Linked DNA regions of Homo sapiens: regions 1, 3 and 4 are each linked to region 2. The links are contacts of gene promoters, found by promoter capture Hi-C in blood cells and fetal thymus (Javierre and others, 2016). All regions are on one chromosome and are shown on one strand. The core of a region is centred on a gene start or on the middle of the fragment in contact, and the rest is flanking DNA. Distances in the headings are between cores, read along the strand shown.

Region 1 (2,938 bases), core at 186-2,685, 240 kb after region 2:
AACATCCCCCAAACTTTCACAGGGTGGCACATGCTGAAGGCCAAATGAGCATACAGAAATAGAAGGAAACTCAGAGAAAAACAAGTCCATGCCTTTCCTTCTCTGACAGCTGGAACCATGTCATCCAAGTGCTGAGATAATGTGACAAGACCTAGGCTCCTAGAGCAACCGGACCACAAAAATTCAGGGCAAAGGGGAAGGGGAAAGCATAGGGAAGGAGGGAAAGGGGACATAAAGAAACGGAGCTGGCATGGAAAGATCCTTGGCCAGAGACCTGCCTGCCACGTTCAGGTTTGCCTTTGATGAAGTCTCTTCATATATCTTGGCCTCCATTTCCCTATCTGTAAGATGGGAACTGTTTCATTACATTCGCTTTGCTCCAAGGAACAAACTGACTCATGGCGAGTAAAGATGGTGAATATTGTAATATTGTAAGGCTATAAATCATGTATAAGAGAGACAGAATCTCAGAGAAATCTCAAAACAGGATCTGCTGTAGGATGGGGCCTTAGGGAGACTGGAACTGTATTTAGGTCAGATTTAGAGTCCTCAGGATCAGGGATCCATGCATCTTCACTTCAGAGCTATATTTTTAGTTATACCTTCATTAAGACTCTGTTTCACGTGTTTGAAGCCCCAAACTCAAAATGTTTTGAGGAAAAAAAAAAAGGAAATGTCCTGGCTCATGCAACTAAAGAATCAGTGTATATAATAGTCTTGGCATGACCAGAATCAGCCAGTCAGCCAATGGGGCCAGGACCCAGTCCCTCTGCCAACCATGGCTCTATTTCCCTTCACGTCGGCCTTACTCTCAGACCCTGCAAGATGACCCAAAGGCTGTGCTCTTGCTCATACTCTTCATTGTCTAAATTCAACCAGAAGCTAGAGGGAACTTATATTGTGCAGACCAGTTTTCTTCAGGGCATACAATAAGGTAGATAAATGAGGAGAATGGATGATTGAAGCTATCAAGTACATCCCCCTAGATTCAAGTCCAGTAGAAAGAGCATAACTGTAAGCAGAAGTCCCCAGCTGTATCTCCTTAGTTCTGATTAAACCTTATGATTGTCACTGTGGCTCTGGGAATGAAGCCGGGTGGGGCTATCTCTTCCCACATGTCTGGGAGTAGGGGAGGAAGTAAGGTCCCCAAGGAAAGTAGAGGTCACTATTATAGAAAGAAAACAGAACGGATGTTAAATAGCATCTAAAGTGGCTATACTTGTTCCCCATTTATCTCATTTATTTGTAAATATGAATGCTAGATAATTTTTTTTTTTTTTTAACAAATGAGAGCTTTAAATAACTGTAGCATGACTAAGATATCTGGTTGGGCACATAAGAGGTTGGATTTGGTAAAGGTAGGTGTCTGAAAGAAAGTATTGTAATTTTCTGCTCTCACATAACAAATACAACCATGAATTGCATTCAACAGTTTAGGTAGTTGATTTAGTGTATCTATCGTGTTCTTGATAGCTAATTGTTTTTATAGATGGAGAAACTGAGTCACACGTTTATTAAATATATCATCTAAGATCTTGGGATTCAACTTTGGTGCCAGGACAAGAACCTGGATATCCAGATCAATGACAAAATCATGAGTAATACCTGTGTAATTCTAGAATGTTTTCAGGAAAGCATAATTCTTCTTGTTTTTAGCTGATAGCACTGTATTTGTTAAATTCTTCAGGTTCCCTAGCACTCATGGGTATGTCCTCTTACTGATATATACCAAAGGAATAACCTATGTAAAAGCACTGTGGTAGGTAGAAGTATGGCTGGTTTTGAAGGGCCAAAAACCAATATGCTTGAAATGGAGAGATGGAAGCATGGGGCAGGGGCAGGGCAGGGGAGGGGAGACTAGAGAGGCAGGTAGGGACCAGCCTGTGAAGGACATCATAAGATACATTATCATTTATAATTATTGTTAAATTTTAGGTTTTAAAATTTAGCAAACTTGATTTTATTAGATTTATTTTTTATGGTTTTCTTCTATTCAAGGTAGTGAAATATTACCTTAATTACCATTAATACATTTATTAGTACCTGTTACTAGTAGTACATTTAACAAAGTTTAAAAAAAAAGAGGACGTTTTCATAAAATATTAAGTACAGCTGAGTGTATTGTAAACATAGGATATGGTAAACTCATGAAAATAGTATCTGAAGGAGTAAAGTTTGGGAAACACTGGTATGTTGGGCATTTTTCTTTTTTCTTTCTTTTGTGAGATATGATCTTGCTCTGTCGCCCAGGCTGTAGGGCAGTGGCATGATCTCAGCTCATTGCAACCTCTGCCTCCCGGGTTCAAGCTCCCACAGCCTCCCGTGTGGCTGAGACTACAGACACGCATCTTTTTTTTTTTTTTCTCCAGAAACAGGGTTTTGTCATGTTGCCCAGGCTGGTCTTGAACTCCTGAGCTCGAGTAATTATCTGTGTCAGCCTCCCAAGTACTGGGATTACAGGCACATTTTTCATTTGCCCCTCCAGATCCACTTTCCACTCTCTGTATCCTTTTCTGTGACTCCACAGCTGACCTCTAAGGCCTGCATCACCCAGTCTACCTTGTCCTCCTTGACCTATCACCTACCTTGGTGATAAGAGTCACCAGTAGGAAATTGAAGCAGAGGAGGAGTATGGGGTTAGGGGCTTTATTCCCCTGAATTCCTGCTATGAGATTGCTATTCCTCGACCCAAGAGCCTCACTCCTGTCTGATAGCCTCCCTGACAGCTGCAGGCACTCTCTCCAGGTTCCAGTAACCACCTCCTTGCCTCAACCTTTTAGACTTAGGAGTAGAAATGGCTCCCCGCTATTGCTAGCACTGAGACACAGCACCATTCCTTGTTGGGTTTTCTTTAACCCTTCCTGCTTCCTTGTAAATAATCTTTCACTAAATTCTCCCTCAGTTACTCTGTTGGAACATGTTCTCTGTTTCTTGCCAG
Region 2 (2,809 bases), core at 118-2,617:
CAGTATTTCTCAATTTGCCCGTTTCATCAATAACCAGATGACAAAAAGAAGCTAATATTCCCTCCCTAGTGGAGGATGAACTAAGAAAAGAGGTAGAAATGTAATTTTGTAAGGGTAAAGGGGGAATGGAAATAGCCCTGGAGTCATGAGCTCCCCTCCCTCTTTGGATTCCACATCACAGCTGTGGGTGCCCGCATCCCCATCACCACTGTAGAAAGATTCTTTAATTTTCCGCCCCATTTCCTTTGTCATTCAACAATGCACACTGCCTTTTTCCCCCATAGACAAGCTGTGGCCACAAAGCTGATGCCCTGGCACCTGCGAGCGCTTGAGGCCAAATTGGTTGAGTCCCAGCGCTCCACAACCCACCTCCTCCCGCCAGGTAGCAAAGACAAGGTTAAGAATCACGATCAAAATAACCACAAAAAAACCTACAACGATAATAAACTAAATTTAAGACACAGAGTAGTAACTAGATTTGTTATCTTACACAACTCGTATTCACTTCCAGATTCCCAGACATGGAAAAGAATATGCAAAGCTTTTTGTTCTTTTGTTTAGGTCTTCTTCTTCTTCTTCTTCTTCTTCTTCTTCTTCTTCTTCTTCTTCTTCTTCTTCTTCTTCTTCTTCTTCTTCTTCCTCTTCTTCTTTTTTGCGTAACTATTCACAGGAGTCTAATATCCTTCACAACTCTAAGCTTGCTTGAGTACCAAAACTCATGACTAATTTTTATTCGCTTTTTCCCAATTCACTTTCAAATGAAAAGAACTGCCAGCGGTGGTTTTTCTATCCACTTTCTCCCCTCGTGTTATCTTTCACGGCTTCCTAAACATTAGCACCAATAATTATTATTACACTGTAAGAATAATCCTATTATCTTCGCCTCCACCGCACTCCTCTCGTCTAACCCCCTTTCACAAACACGCAGAATAGAACTCCTCGATTTGCACAAATCTAGGTACCTCGGCTTCAGCCAGCATTTGTCTCAGTAGCCTCTAGGACCCAGAGCAACTCGCCTCTGTACCGGCATCTGGCTTTTCAGCACCGAGGACAGTGCCCGGGATCGGGTCTTTAGGAGCCACAGCCAACCTCTCAGCTCTACAGCCTAGGAAACCTCTTTGCGACCTCAGGTGACGCTCACAAGTACAAATACCTAGGGCTGCGAGAATTGTTCTCCTCGTCGCCCCCTTTCCCCCCACCCAATGCACAGACATCTCCAAAAGAAATAGCCAAAACGAATCTGCTTTCCCTGTCCCCTCAGCCCCCTTTCCTCTTGAAAGAACAAAAGCAAACACTCACCATGTCTGACACAGGCAACAGACTGAACTGGTGGAGGGTGAAACCCGCTATTGACAAGACTGGGTTTGGCTCAGGCAGGAGAGGCGCTTTCTATATCTCCTTGGGAAAGGCCGGGTTTGCGTCAGTGCAAAGCAAGGTGCCCTTGGTTTGACATTTTCTTGATAATACAAGTTTGATAAATCATTACCCCCTTGGATTCAAGTTTTAAAGGGACAACAGCCTAGAGTATGCTGGCCAGTTGTCACTCCAGCGGGAGGGGGCTGCGTGTTTGGCGTGACTCATGTGGTCTGATTACTAAACCGAAACCGGCAGGAGGGGAAGACAGAAGTTTGCCTCCTCCTAATTAAGGGAAACATGGGAGGGACACGTCCCACTGCACCCAAGGCAAGGCGCAGCCGCCAACAGAGTGGATCGGGCTGTAGAGGAGGAAGGAGGGGGTTAAATCACTGTCTATTCTTTCCCTTTCACTAGATTCCATTGCTGTCCCCCCTTATCTTCAGGGATTCCGAAAATATTACTCCGAAAGAGGTTGAGGGTCTGCGCATAGCCCCACAGCTCTGCGATGACTGAAGCAGGCATGGGTCCTGCATTTATCAAGGTGTACCTACCTAGCATGTATGTGGACTTCAGATTCTCACATCCCTACCCTTCCAGACAGTCAGTCTTGGAGGAATCCTGGGGTTTTTGCTTAAAAATTGTGATCTGGTATTTCCGTTCCTATTTCTGTTATCACAATCAAGAGAAAATTCTGAGTATAACTGACCTTTTTCATTGTATTTTTAAGCTTTTCTGAAGACGTTTTAGAGAAAGAAAAACGAAGTTTTTCCAACACAGACCTAGTTCTTAGGTCACTTTCAAAGTCAAGGGAAACCCATTCTTTCTTTACAGTCCTTTCAATAAAATCCTACAAGAGCCAGGCCTGATTTGGCAGCGCGGGACCTTAGAGACCGTCCAAATCGGGATGCCCAGCAATGCGGGGGAGGGGGAATGAGAGCTGGCAATCTGCAAAGCCATGCCAGGATGTTCAACCGTACTGTGGCGGGGATGGGAGTGGGGGTGGCCATGGCGATAAAAAGATGGACTTTCTTGTTGTGTGTACAATGCAATAGCTATAATCAGAAGAGGAAAAAACGCCTTTACAAAGAAGGTGTAGTTTGGAGACTAGAAGGGGATTATCAGCAAAATGCTTCCCTTCTCTCCTTCCTTGCCGGTCTAGCTCGGGGAACCCCTGGCCTCGGGGATGAGGAGCCACAGACAGCACGTTTTCCCTTCCCTACTGCCAACAGCCCAGCCCACTGCCTCGGGGTGCGCGCCGTCGCCAGCGGCTGGGCCGTCCCACGCGGCGGGAGGACAATGCCGCGGCGGCCGCGGCCGCAGGCGTAGGCTGCAGTGGCAGATTGCGGCGGGCGCCGGGGGCACTAAGGGGCACCCTCCTGCTCCTCTGGAGAGCCCGAGAGTGTTTGGATGCCTCCGCTGGTTGGCTTTCCCGCCTAGCCCCTCTAAAGGGCAG
Region 3 (2,812 bases), core at 110-2,609, 220 kb after region 2:
CTCAGCCTCCCAAAGTGCTGGGATTACAGGCGAGAGCCACCGCGCTTGGCCATTCTTTTTTTTTTAATAGGTGGTTTTTAGTATATACACAGAACTCTGTAACCTTCATCACGATCTAAGTTTTAAAATATTTCATCACCCTGAAAAGAAATCCCATATCATTAGCAGTCACTCCTCGTACCCTACCCTCTGGGGACCTAGTCAACCACTAATGTACCTTCTATCTCTATAGATTTGCCTATTCTGGACATTTCATATAAATGAAATCATATAATTCGTGGTCTTTTGTGACTGTCTCCTCACACTTAGCATAATATTTTCAAGGTTCACCCATGTTGTAGTATGTATCATTTCTTTTTATAGCTGAATAATATTCTATTGCATGAATATATCACATTTTATTCATCTATTCATCAGTCGATGGCTATCTAGGTTGTTCCCACTCTTTGGCCATTATAAATAATGCTGCTATGAACAGTCATACACAAGATTTTATGTGTACACACATTTCTTAGCTTTTTTTTTTTTTTTTTTTTGAGATGGAGTCTCACTCTGTCGCCCAGGCTGGAGTGCAGTGGCGCAATCTCAGCTCACTGCAAGCTCCGCCTCCCGGGTTCATGCCGTTCTCCTGCCTCAGCCTCCCGAGCAGCTGGGACTACAGGCACCTGCCATCACGCCCGGCTAATTTTTTGTATTTTTAGTAGAGACGGGGTTTCACCGTGTTAGCCAGGATGGTCTCAATCTCCTGACCTCGTGATCCGCCCGCCTCGGCCTCCCAAAGCGCTGGGATTACAGGCGTGAGCCACCGCGCCCAGCCCATTTCTTAGCTTTTTAAAAGATTTGTTTTGTCTCTATTAGCAGTGTGCATAAAAGAGATACCATAGCAGGCTGAGACTGCTATCCTTAGAAAGGCCTGTTACAAGTTTGGCCCCTGGCTTGTGCTTGCAACCTTGGATTTTCGGTGTGTTCCCACCATTCCCTATCTGATAAGGGTCATGTACTATGCCTAAACTGTCTGTACAAACAATGTGGTTTATGCTGAAAACTTGCCTTTCTTCTGGAGGGCTGCAATTTGGCTAGGCCAATGTGCCTATGTAACTGGCTCCCATAAAAACCCTGCATTCCTAGGCTCAGATGAGTTTCTCTGGCAGAAAACGTTCATCGCTGGAGACATTAAGCACATCCTGTGCAAGCTCTATGGGGAGAGGCCTCTTGGAAGCTTGTACCTACTTTCCTCCAGACTTCACCCGACACACCTTTTCCCTTTGCTGATTTTGCTCTATATCCTTTCAATGCGATAAGTTGTAGCTGTGAGTATGACTATATGCTGAGTCCTATGAAACCTTCTAGTGAATTACCAAACTTGGGGGTGTCTTTGAGGATCCCTCAATACAAGCAGATTATAAACTCCTTGAGGTCAAGGATGATACCCAATAATAAAATGTCACATGTCTGGAAAGTATACCTTCACCCTGAATAGATGAGGAAACCAAAGCTTATAAACCCTGAGAACAGAGGACATGAGGCCCATCCAGTACTCTGGGCTCCACATCCTGACACGTCTCCCCACGGCACCAGCAGAATGCCCATAAAGCACATGATTGATCCAAGCCCCCAGAGCTGGCCCACCATGAATGAATGCAATTGAAACTTCATTGAGTAGAATAAATGTTCCTAAACAATAAAGGAGTTTCTAAAATTGGGTGGGGCGGGGGAGTTCATACACACATGGAGGCTGAGAAAATAGGCAATAAATACTAGGAATGTTACACACAGTAGTTGAAGGATTATTTTGGAAAGATAATCTTTCCAAATTGTAAAAGCAATTATATATTGTTCAGCGTCATTCTGGGTTGGATCATTTGGTTGTCATTTCTGTCCTTTATTAATCTAATTCATAATCCCAGGCTGCAGGTAATGCAGGCCAATTGCAGTGAAATCAGAAGTGTCTTTCCGTTGTATTGGCCTTAATATTTGCTGAGGCTCTGTCACGGTCCAATCTCTGCTGGGTCCCTTTTGCATGTATTAGTGACAAAGGCTATTCATTACTTAATAGCTAGTGGCATAGGCCTTGGAATCAGCCTGGGTTCAAGCTCTAGCTTTGCCGCTTAACAGCTGGTGTTTTTGTTGTTGTTGTTGTTGTTGTTGTTTGTTTTGTTTTGTTTTGTTTTTGAGACAGAGTCTCACTCTGTCCCCAAGCTGGAGTGCAGTGATGTGATCTTGGCTCACTGCAGCCTCTGCTTCCCGGGTTCATGCAATTCTCCTGCCTCAGCCTCCCGAGTAGCTGGGATTACAGGCATACACCACTGTGCCAGTTAATTTTTGTATTTTTAGTACAGACAGGGTTTTGCCACGTTTCCCAGGCTGGTTTCAAACTCCCAGCCTCAAGTGATCTTCCCACCTCGGCCTCCCAAAGTGCTAGAATTACAGGCGTGAGCCACCGTGCCCAGCCAACAGCTGGTGGTCTTAATATCACAGTACCTGTTTCCACGCAAATGCACATAAAAGCCCTCAGAATACTGCCTGGCTCATTTAGTGTTAGCTATTTTTTTAAAAATCTGGTTAAATCATTATTATAACCCAGTGAGTCAGTAGTAACGCCTTTATCTTTAACAATGAGGAAATATCTTATGTATATTTTCTTTCCTAAAAGGTATAAATGTTGATCTTGCTAATGAGAGCAAAAATCCTATTTGATAACCTTTCTCAGAACCCACATGTGTCAGTGTTTTAAAAAACAAGTTGGGCCTGATCCCTCATGCCTGTAGTCCCAGCTGCTCAGGAGGTTGAGGCTGGAGATTGTTTGAGCCCA
Region 4 (2,996 bases), core at 329-2,828, 190 kb after region 2:
AAATACTCCAACAAAAACAAAAACAAAACAAAAAAGGTGGGAGGGAAATGTATAAAAAAAATCGTGAAAAATTGATAAATGTAGACGCGGGTGATAGGCACACAGGAATTCATATCATTCTCTCTACTGTCATGTATGGCTGAAAATTTCAAAAATCCTTTTAAGGAACTCTCTGATACTTCAAAACAAAGGTGGGGGGGGGGTTCAGACTACATAGCTGTTCAACAGTTTTGTGAACAGATTTTTAAAAATTCATATTTTTGCAAAATGGATCTGGTGAACAAATGCTTCCCTCTGCTCTGATGACCATGACTCTAGTAATGATTGGCAAAAATAATGTCTATAATGAATCTTAAACATGGCCATCTAGCATGAGGTAAGACAAAAAGGTCTACACAAATATCACTGGATCTTGATAATAACAACTATAGCCTTTGATAGTTTCCATCTGAAAAGAAAACTAGGAATTGAGTGACAAAGCATTCAACAAGCAACTAGAGTACAAGCTTGGTCATTAGTACTAAAAACTGTGAGATAATAATAAGTCTGCTTCTTTAGTCCTTTAAATACATCTACTTGTTCAATTTCCACACTGTACAAAGGGGGAAAATAACATATGCAGGAGCTTTATAGATAATTAGAAAAAAACAAGTCTTATGTGGATACAATTTGTTTTGTTAAAAATCCATTATCACAAAGTCACAATACATGGCTGTTCCCTCTGAATCAACTGTGAACCTGCTGTATAATAAAACTTTTCCTCACTAAGCTTCTAGGTATATGCTCTCATGTGCAATGTTTTAAAACTATTTTTTAAAATGTGATTATTTTTTGCAAAAGCCTATTTATAGTAAATATGTGCTCTATGCAAAATGTTCACTTAGCTAAATTGGTACTTTAACTGAATATAAACTTAAGTTTTAGTCATTTTGTTATACTCTCCATGGTTAGTAGTGATCTTTGTCACAAATGCTATTTCTCTGACTGCTAACATTACAGCAAGAAAATAATTATTTGCAGTAGTGAAACTGATTTTGATTTCTTCACTGCACTTCTTATCTATGCTTCCTTCCTATAACTACATCTGACACTCAAGCAAAGATTCTAGATATACTTTGGAGCTAGCAGGAAATCTTACAAAAATGACACTTTACAAGATTGAGAGAATAAACATTGGTAAGCATAAAATATTTGACACAGCAAAGACTAGTTTGACATATGTACTTCCTACTTCACTACATTAAAATTAGTGTTCGAGATTCAAAAATCTGGCTGACAAAATGATCAGACTCCCTTTCCAAAAATACACACAGAAAAGACTGAAGACAAGTATTTTGAGTCAATGATTACAGACAGAGGATCCTTATCCAAATAAGTCACATGTCTCTACCTATTTTATCCTAAGAAACTGACAGAGCTCAAATTTTAGGTCTTAGGTATCTTGAACCCTAATAATTTTAATGAAAAGCTATTATGCTAGATTGCTGGGTTTAAATCTCATTATTACTATATAAAAATCTTGTTAAAATACTTTTAGTTATGTGCTTACTTAGCTGAGTTAACTTTAAGTTATCTCAAAAACATCTTTGTATCGAATCCTGTAAGTATTGCTAAAGAGACATTCTGTTAGCTCTGGCTTTATAAGTGAAAGATCTAAAGATGAGAAGGGAGGAGCAATTTATTGTATTTGAGTACATGGAAAAGCACTCCTTTGTGACTGCAGATGTCACTTGCTGAATCAGGGACATATTTCTTTCACACTTCTATTTTTGCCCACTGATGTAGAAGATGCTATCTTAACAGAAAAAATACTAATAGATGCAAATTGACACCCATCCTTTGATTAAAAGTAAGTTGGTAGCTTTCCCGGAGACTTTAAAAACAAAGACTATTAATCCCAAATTATTCTGGGCTCTGCACCAGTGACAAATATACTTTAGAAGGTCTTCTAACTAATAAAAATATTTAGGATTATGTGGGCAGAAAAAAAATTGTTCTTAAATCTGGATAGAATTACTGTGAATATCTTTAAATAATATTTTTAAATATTTTCAAGGTTTTTAATACTGGTATTAAATTATAAGATTTACACAACTACCTATTTATTTTGAAAAATCATAAAATATAATTTTTTTTAGAAATTGTTTCCGCTGGGAGCTCATCAATATACCAGAAACACATTTAATTCCAGTGTCTCGTTCCTCCAAAACTGTAACTCTAGATCAAAAGTAATATATCACGAAGTGTTTAGATGACCGCAATGAAAAAAGGACTGAAAATTAATTTCCTTCTAGCAATAATTTGTCAGAAAACATTTTCCTCATTAAGTAATTGAATGTTAAATGTATATGTCAGAAACATTTTAAATATTTTACTAAGAAGCTTGGACATGAACACCCTAGCACTAAATATTAATATTATAAACGATGAATTTTAGGTGTAATCATTACATAAACATGTTTCTACAAAGACAATGGGAATCAGGACTTCTGTAAAATAAAATGAAACAATGTATTATAATTCCTTTACATTTCTTTCATAGAGTTAAGAAATTAAAATGAGAGCACATCTAGTCCCATTTTATCGTAAAAAACAATGACTAACTCATAAATGTACTAGAAATTCTAGTAGAAATAGCTTTCATAAGACTAGAAATTCTAGTAGAAATAGCTCACCATAATTTTACTATCAACAATAAAATTTTGAGAATTCTTCTAAAACAATCTCTTCTTTGGGACAGTGGTTCTCATATTTGTTTGGATGGCAATGAATAAGCAATTGAGGGTACTCTCTATGGAACCCCCAAAATGATCATGTTGTACTTAATGGTATCATAAGAACTAGAAAAAGCTTGACTAGATATCTATCTATATATATGTATGTGTAATTCTATAATTGCAAATGCAACGTGTGTGTGTGTGTGTGTGTGTGTGTGTGTGTGTGTGTTTGTGTATTCCAATACAAAAATCGCAACCACAAACCATTATCTATGAAAA

Evidence for each region. Contacts are between HindIII fragments. The CHiCAGO score rates a contact against its expected background, and 5 or more counts as called.
Region 1: a fragment that was not itself captured here is called in contact with the fragment with the promoter of SLC6A5 in region 2 in 1 of 17 cell types (erythroblasts); the score reaches 7.1 in erythroblasts.
Region 3: a fragment that was not itself captured here is called in contact with the fragment with the promoter of SLC6A5 in region 2 in 1 of 17 cell types (erythroblasts); the score reaches 5.7 in erythroblasts.
Region 4: a contact is called between a fragment that was not itself captured here and the fragment with the promoter of SLC6A5 in region 2, in 1 of 17 cell types (erythroblasts). The highest score is 5.6, in erythroblasts.

The regions. Positions count from the first base shown.
Region 1 is chr11:20,357,477-20,360,414 of GRCh38, reverse strand. No RefSeq gene overlaps it. Among named protein-coding and RNA genes, the nearest start is that of HTATIP2, 4.8 kb to the left of the region's middle. The HindIII fragment of the contact is 7,195 bases long and covers 1-2,938 here.
Region 2 is chr11:20,598,166-20,600,974 of GRCh38, reverse strand. It overlaps SLC6A5 (solute carrier family 6 member 5), which reads right to left and starts at 1,367. Exons shown (of 16, transcript NM_004211.5): 1 at 1,300-1,367. The coding sequence starts at 1,302. The HindIII fragment of the contact is 1,386 bases long and covers 700-2,085 here.
Region 3 is chr11:20,378,396-20,381,207 of GRCh38, reverse strand. All of the region lies in intron 3 of HTATIP2 (HIV-1 Tat interactive protein 2), which reads right to left. Among named protein-coding and RNA genes, the nearest start is that of PRMT3, 7.9 kb to the left of the region's middle. The HindIII fragment of the contact is 276 bases long and covers 1,222-1,497 here.
Region 4 is chr11:20,409,605-20,412,600 of GRCh38, reverse strand. All of the region lies in intron 9 of PRMT3 (protein arginine methyltransferase 3), which reads right to left. Among named protein-coding and RNA genes, the nearest start is that of PRMT3, 23 kb to the right of the region's middle. The HindIII fragment of the contact is 1,613 bases long and covers 772-2,384 here.